2 separate regions of the Homo sapiens genome follow, and region 2 is linked to region 1. Evidence: promoter capture Hi-C in human tissues and cell types (Jung and others, 2019). All regions are on one chromosome and are shown on one strand. The core of a region is centred on a gene start or on the middle of the fragment in contact, and the rest is flanking DNA. Distances in the headings are between cores, read along the strand shown.

The links. Contacts are between HindIII fragments. The study calls those that stand out against the background at their distance.
Region 2: a contact is called between a fragment that was not itself captured here and the fragment with the promoter of ABHD1 in region 1, in 1 of the 25 tissues and cell types used here (aorta).

The regions. Positions count from the first base shown.
Region 1 is chr2:27,121,691-27,125,150 of GRCh38, reverse strand. ABHD1 (abhydrolase domain containing 1) reads right to left here and starts at 1,336. Exons shown (of 9, transcript NM_032604.4): 1 at 1,089-1,336. The coding sequence starts at 1,202. RefSeq lists silencers at 1,252-1,391, 1,412-1,491. The HindIII fragment of the contact is 4,226 bases long and covers 1-1,912 here.
Region 2 is chr2:28,332,853-28,336,173 of GRCh38, reverse strand. The region is part of intron 11 of BABAM2 (BRISC and BRCA1 A complex member 2); the gene reads right to left. Among named protein-coding and RNA genes, the nearest start is that of BABAM2-AS2, 24 kb to the right of the region's middle. RefSeq lists a silencer at 1-106. The HindIII fragment of the contact is 4,592 bases long and covers 1-3,321 here.

The DNA.
Region 1 (3,460 bases), core at 87-2,586:
TTTTTTTTTTTTTGAGACGGAGTTTCACTCTTGTTGCTCAGGCTGGAGTGCAATGGCACGAGGCTCATTGCAACCTCCGCCTCCCAGGTTCAAGTGATTCTCCTGCCTCAGGCTCCCGAGTAGCTGGGATTATAGGCATGTGCCACCATGCCTGGCTAATTTTTGTATTTTTAGTAGAGATGGGGTTTCTTCATGTTGGTCAGGCTGCTCTCGAACTCCCGACCTCAGGCGATCCTCCCGCCTCTGCCTCCCAAAGTGTTGGGATTACAGGCGTGAGCCACCACACCCGGCCCTAAGGAAGACATTTAGTAAACAATATATGCTAATGTAGAAAGCTCTGAAAATATGGAAAAGTCTAGGTAACACTAAAGTCTCCTATAGACCTTTTTAAAGGACTCGAACCAGTAGGTGTCTTGTTAGACTCAGCTACCTAGAACAGAGTTTAATGAAGATGAAGAGATTTGGCTTTTCCTGGATATGTAAATTATGTATATATCTAAATTTCAGTGAGAAAAGTCTCCAAATTCATCAAAATCAACCTCTTCAAACTTTCTCATCACACTCACTATATGGAGAGCCTGGAACATAAAACGGCTGAATGAGCAAGGACAGTTGGGGTCATCCATCAGTTCTGAGCTAGGCCAGTTCTGACCTCAGCCAGCCCTTAAGGGAAGGGAGGTCCTACTAAGCTATTTGGGGGGTGGGTGGTATTGGGAGTTAGCCATGACCCACAGACCTCTGGTTCCTTCCTTCAGTGCAGCTGAAAGACTCAGCTAAACCACCTAAAAAGGAACGCAAAGTGTGCACATCTCTGATACCTCAGGATGCCTTCCACCCCACCTTTCCCCAAATGCTTGTCCACATTATAGGGAGCAGCACCCTCCGGTACCCAAAAGGCCCAGCTGGCATGGGGATCACATGGGATGCAGAGGCACTAGAGAGGCAGAGCCGACTCTCCATTCGGTGGTAGCAAATTTCACCTGTGGGGAAGCCCAACCATCCCAGTTCCCACCAAGGGCCCAAGCCCGTGTCTGGAAGCTGCCCCCTACACCCAAACCCGCTGGCCAGAGCGGTGGACCCGCACCCACCTGAAGCACACATGCCCAGTAGTAGCCCAAGTAGAGGGCAACGGCAAGAGCCAAGAGCAGAGAGAAGGTGTCTGCCCAGGTGCCATTCTGGGGGCTCAGGAAGGAGCTCAGCATCTTGTGTTGGGGGCTTCCGACCCTCAGGCTCCTGGCTGGCCCCAGTTGGCCGGCTGTAACTCGCGGTCCCACCCGCCGCCCGCCATAGGCGGCCTGTGCAGGTCCGGTCCCCGCTGCAGGCAGTTTGCGCTGCTGGCCCCGCCCACCGCCGGTGCCCCGGGATGGGCGGCGAGAGGCGGCGCTAGTTGGTCGCGGGGCTGGGTGGCTGGTCGCCTAGTGCCTCGCGCGGATCTAACCCGAGTGACCTGCGAATGGCCTCCCGCCCTCCCCTGCCTTCTTCCCCTCCGCGGTTCTTGGCTGTGCAGCCCGAGACAAGCGGCCTCCCCCAGCTGCCATCTTGGTGCGGGGCATCTCCAGCTCCCTTAAACTCTTCCCCGGCGACGCCCCGAGTCCAGCAGCCTGGCCAGAGTCCCTTAGGCGCTCGCAGTCAGTCACGCACAGGACACAGCTACTCCTGCAGTGACATTCTGCTCTGTCACACACTACAGCCATTCACAGTGACCCTCACCAGTCACTGTCCGACTGTGACACCCCACACTGTCACAAAGCTTTCAGCTGCTCAGTGGTGGCATTGCAACACATGCACCTTCCTGCAGTGTCACTCTGCATTGTCTCATACAGTCCCTGCCACACAGTCCTCGTACAGTAGATAATTTGCTCACCACCCGCCCTGTACCAGGCACTTGATACAGACCCCCCATGTTACTGTCCGTGTCTTCATTGAAATATAGGAGGTCGTCTACTAAGAGTAGTGGCTTTCAACCTTGACTGCAGATCGGAATCATCTAGGATTTTTAAAACTACCAGTGCCCAGGCCCTACCCCCGATACAGTTAGTCTGGAGAGGAGCCTAGGTATCAATACACCGTAAAGCTTCTAGGAGGTCCACAAGTCATCAGGGCTTAACATGGTCCACACAAGAGAAGTACCAGCTGCCATGGGAGCACTGCGGAGGTGCCCGGACTTCACGCGAGGGTGTTCTAGCAGAGGGGGCAGCAAAGGCAAAAGCCTGGAGGTGAAGGATGTCTTAAGGGAACAAAGAAAGTTGGTGTGGCTGGAGCATGTGGGTGGTCAAGGACCACATAATTGCTGCAGTTTATCCTAGGGTCAGAGGAAAGCCATCCAGGGGTTTTAAGAAGGGAAGGGTGACATGAGTTATGTTTTAGGAGAATCATTCAGTTGCTTGGAGAATAGATTGGAGGAGGAGGAAAGTAGAAGCAGAGAGGCCACTGGGAGGCTGCTAACAGAACGCCAGGCTCAAAAGATGCCCGGACTGGAGGATACCCAGGAGAGGAGTGAAGATCTTCAAGATCAGTGGCAGAATTGATAGGACCTGGTAGTAGATTGGAGGCAGGGGAAGAAGGAGGAACATGGATGACCTCCAGGTTTCTGACTGCACAGATATAAAGTGTCCATCCCTGGGACAGGGAAACAGAGGAGAGGAAGGTTTGAAGAGGAAGATGATGCATTTAGACACAGACATGTAGAAGTTGGGGTGCTGGTAGGTGTTTTAACTGTGTTTCCTTAGGTTCTGTATTTGTCTATTTGGCATCCATAAATCACAGGGCCAACCTAATGGCCAAGGTTGTTTACATCTCCCCTACAATCCAGAGCTCACACTCTGAGCACTTCCTTTCTCTAACTTTCACATTCCAAGCCAGTATCTCCCCTGCCCTAAATCAACCCAGGACCAGGTAACCAGGACCTGTCCCTGTGCCCCAGAGCACTCTGGAATTATTCAAACTAGCCAGTCCCAAACTGCTTCTCCTGCCTTACTGGGAGAAGTAAACCCCAATAAAGGCCTGTACCTTCCCTTCGCTTCTTTCTGCCTCCTGAGTGACACTGGCACTTCCCCCTGTGACCGTGCCTTTTGTTTCTAGGGGAACTGCAAATAACATTAAGCTTTTCTTTCAATAGCAGTGACCTCTTCATGTCCTCACTCAGCCACCTTTATAAATTAAAACTCAGGCACAAATTAGTAGGATATTCAATGCCTGAAGTGGCCTGGGGCTTAGAGATTGGAGGTGGAGAATTGGCAATCATCAGCATTTAGGTGGTGTATTAGTTGGCAGTTTGCTGTAAGAAAGCACTACAAACTGGGTGTCTTAAACCAGGGGTCCCCAACCCCCTGGGCTGCAAATTGGTACTGGTCCATGACCTGGTAGGAACCAGGTGGCATAGCAGAAGGTGAGCAGGATGAGCAAGCATTACTGCCTGAGATCAGCAGTGGAATTAGATTCTCATAGGAGCGCAAACCCT
Region 2 (3,321 bases), core at 486-2,985, 1.2 Mb before region 1:
GAAGCTGCTTCTCCCCTGGACATGAGGCCTCCTTTGCCTATGTTTGCAGCTACACTGATTCTCTTACAGTGTGAGTCTCTGTCCCTTTCCTGACCAAGACCTTAATGTCCTCCAAACTCTCAGCCTGGCATTCAATGACTCTATCTGGCTCCAAGTCATTAGGAAGAAAATCTATTCTGTTCCTCTATCACATTTTTTGAGATCATGCGACCCTTTGAGAAGCTAAGAAAGTGAAGGATCCTCTCCTCAGAGAAACTGCAGGTAAGACGCCCCACAGCAACCCGGGGATGTCACAGACCCCCCTGAGCTGGCCACGGTCCAGGATACGAGCCCTGGATCTACTGCCTCTCCCTTCTTCTCATTTGACTACTTGCTCTTCCTCACACATGCCATTTGCCACCTCTGGGCTTATTCATGCTCAGGACAAATACTCCTGCTTCCATCAAGTCTCCCCTGGTCCCCAGGAGGTCATCTCCCTGCACACTGTCCGTGCTTCTTCTGGGGCACTTGTCCCATGTGCACAGGTCTTATCTGCCAGCCCCTGGAAAGCGGGAGCACATCCTGCTCCCAGTGACCACTAGGCCTGGCTCAGTGTAGAAAGCACTTGGTGATGGGCTGTGGCTTTAATGTAACTAATGATGACCACGAGCTTGCAAGAAGCAGTTACAGTATGTCCATTACAAGCTGTTTAAGAAGGCGGGAGAGGCTGGGCGCAGTGGCTCATGCCTGTAATCCCAGCACTTTTGGAGGCCGAGGCGGGTGTATCACCCAAGGTCAGGAGTTCAAGACCAGCCTGGCCAACATGGCGAAACCCCGTCTCTACTAAAAATATAAAAATTAGCCGGGTGTGGTGGTGGGCGCTTGTAGTCCCAGCTACTTGGGAAGCTGAGGCAGGAGAATCGCTTGAACCCGGGAGGCGGAGGTTGCAGTGAGCCAAGATCACGTCCGCACCATGGCACTCCAGCCTGGGCGGCAGAGCCAGACTCTGTCTCAAAAAAAAAAAAAAAAAAAAAAAAAAAGAAGGTGGGAGAGACAGCAGCTCCAGAAAGAGAACAGGTACAATATTTAGGTACTAAGGAAGAACACTTTAGTCCATTCTCAAATTTCAAACTTTGCCAACAGTTAGTAAGAAAAAGCACCCTCTTCCATCCACTTGTGATCAGCACAGCCCTGAGCCAGCCAAACCGCCACCTTCTCTGGCACTCAGGACCTCAAAGCCCTTATCCATTAACGGCACCATGCCACAGTCGCCACAGTCACCCTTAATGCAAAAGGGGTGCTGTGGTGTGACAGAGCTCCAGACCTAGGCAAGGCCGGGCAGGGCAGGAGAAGCCCTGGGCTCTGTTCCCTTACGAACAGTAGGGGTGATAAGGCCACCTGATGCCACACTCGCATGGGACAGTGTGTGGGAGGAGACAGTCAACTGTTGGCTGCCACCCAGACGTGAGGGCCACTTATTCCTTCCATATGTTTCACCTGCTGCTATTTCCCCAGCAACATGGAAGTGCGGCCGGAGAGAGCCTTGTGGCCCCGCTTCTCCAGAGGGTCTGAGATCGACAGGCTGCCACCAACCTCTGCTGCATGGACTCTGGCCTGATGTGCACTGTGGAGTCTGGCCCATCCCAGTACCACTTTCAGGGAGGGCTGAATGTTCCCTAAGTTAGAGGTGAGGACGTCACCTTCCCTGACCTTACAGCTACGAACATCAAGGGGAGAGGCTGCAGCTGAGCTGCACTATAGCCCCCACAGGTGCCTGATGAGCAGATGGTGCTGGAGCCACTGCTGCCCTGGACGCTGGCCTGAGCTGGGCAGGGGTCGGGTCCGGGGAGCCCTCCACTTACCTCCCCAGGCCCAGAGTCACACTGGGTCCCGAGGCAAGCCTCATCAGCTTAGTCTTTCCTTGTAAACTTCTAGGGGAAGGGGCTACAACATTGCAAGCTCCTTACACAGAAGGGAGCACGTTTTAAAGGCAAGCTTTTTTCTTTTTAGAAAGTTCTAAAGTTTCCTGTTCTGTCCTGGGCTTTCCCTGCCAGGGCCAACTGCGTGCTGCCAAGGGGAAGCGTGGCGAGGGCTATTTAAAGGCATGATGCTACCAGCTGTTTTCGGCGAGTGCCTCTCAACTTGGATCCTCATTAAGTTAGTTAACGGAGTGGGAGGAGGGGGAAAGGGAAAATGACAACTGGCTCCCACCCATTTATAGATTTTTTAAAACGCTGTTTTCATTTATTTCACTTTTTATCAGAGAAAATGGAGAGCTGCCCAGAGTACAGATTGCTAATGGCAAGAGGTATCTGTCATCTTTGAAAAAACCTTTGACCCAGAGACAAAGTATGTAGTAAGCTTTAAAAGTGTAAGCGTGTTCTAGGGGATAGTGAAGTCTTCTCACCTCCCCATTAACTGGCCAAGTGGGGCCCACAGGAGAGGGCCCTGAGTGTCAAGCTCCTCACTGAATGCACACTGTAAGGGAATCTATTTTTAGATGGCATTAGAGCTCAATATGCCTGAGGGCAAAATGAGGTTCAGTCCCTCTTCACTGATCTCAGTCTCTCTGCTCAGGGTTTCATAAAATTACAACTCGGTCCAACCCAGGAGTCTCAGTTAGGAGAAGAAAACGTAAGGACTGGGTAGGTTTCCCATGAATTCAGAGCAGAAGCAGGGCTGGCCCAGGCTTCAGCTCACAGGCATGGCATGGTGGAGGGAACTGAATCAGGAGTCAGGGGGTCTACTTTTGTGGGCCTTGGGCCCAGGGTAAATCTCTTCTGGGCTTCAGCTCCCTCACCTACAAAGCAGGGTGCCATAACTGAGGGTCCTAAGGCCGGTGGGCTGTAGAAGGTGAGGGTAGCCTGTGCGGGGCAGGCTCTGGAGCCAGGCGGACTGGGCTCGAGGCCTGGCCACACTCCTTACTCGTTGATCATGAGGGCAAGTGACTGCAGCGTTAGTTTCTTCATCTAAAAGGCGGGAGTAACTGCCTACCTTAAAGGGTTCTTGTGAGGAGTGAATGAGATGGTCTGGGTAAGCGCTTGGCATGGTACCTGGCATAAGAGATGATCAATAGATGTCAACTATTATCATGGGTACCCGCTGGGGCCAAGGGGAAGAGGCTCTGAGTCTGTGGAAACAGCCAGAAGAACGCGTGTGTGCCGAAGCGGGAAACCTGTGAGAGGTCTAGGGTCCTTGTCCTCAGTTCAGCCTTTCCCGAGGCTCCTTGGATCAGGCCCTCCCTTCTCACTGATCACACTGAGCTGGCAATCGCAGGCAGAGATGGCCAATCTCAGGCTTGGATACTCAGCCAAAGTCATGGGACACTGTGTGTCTTTTGCA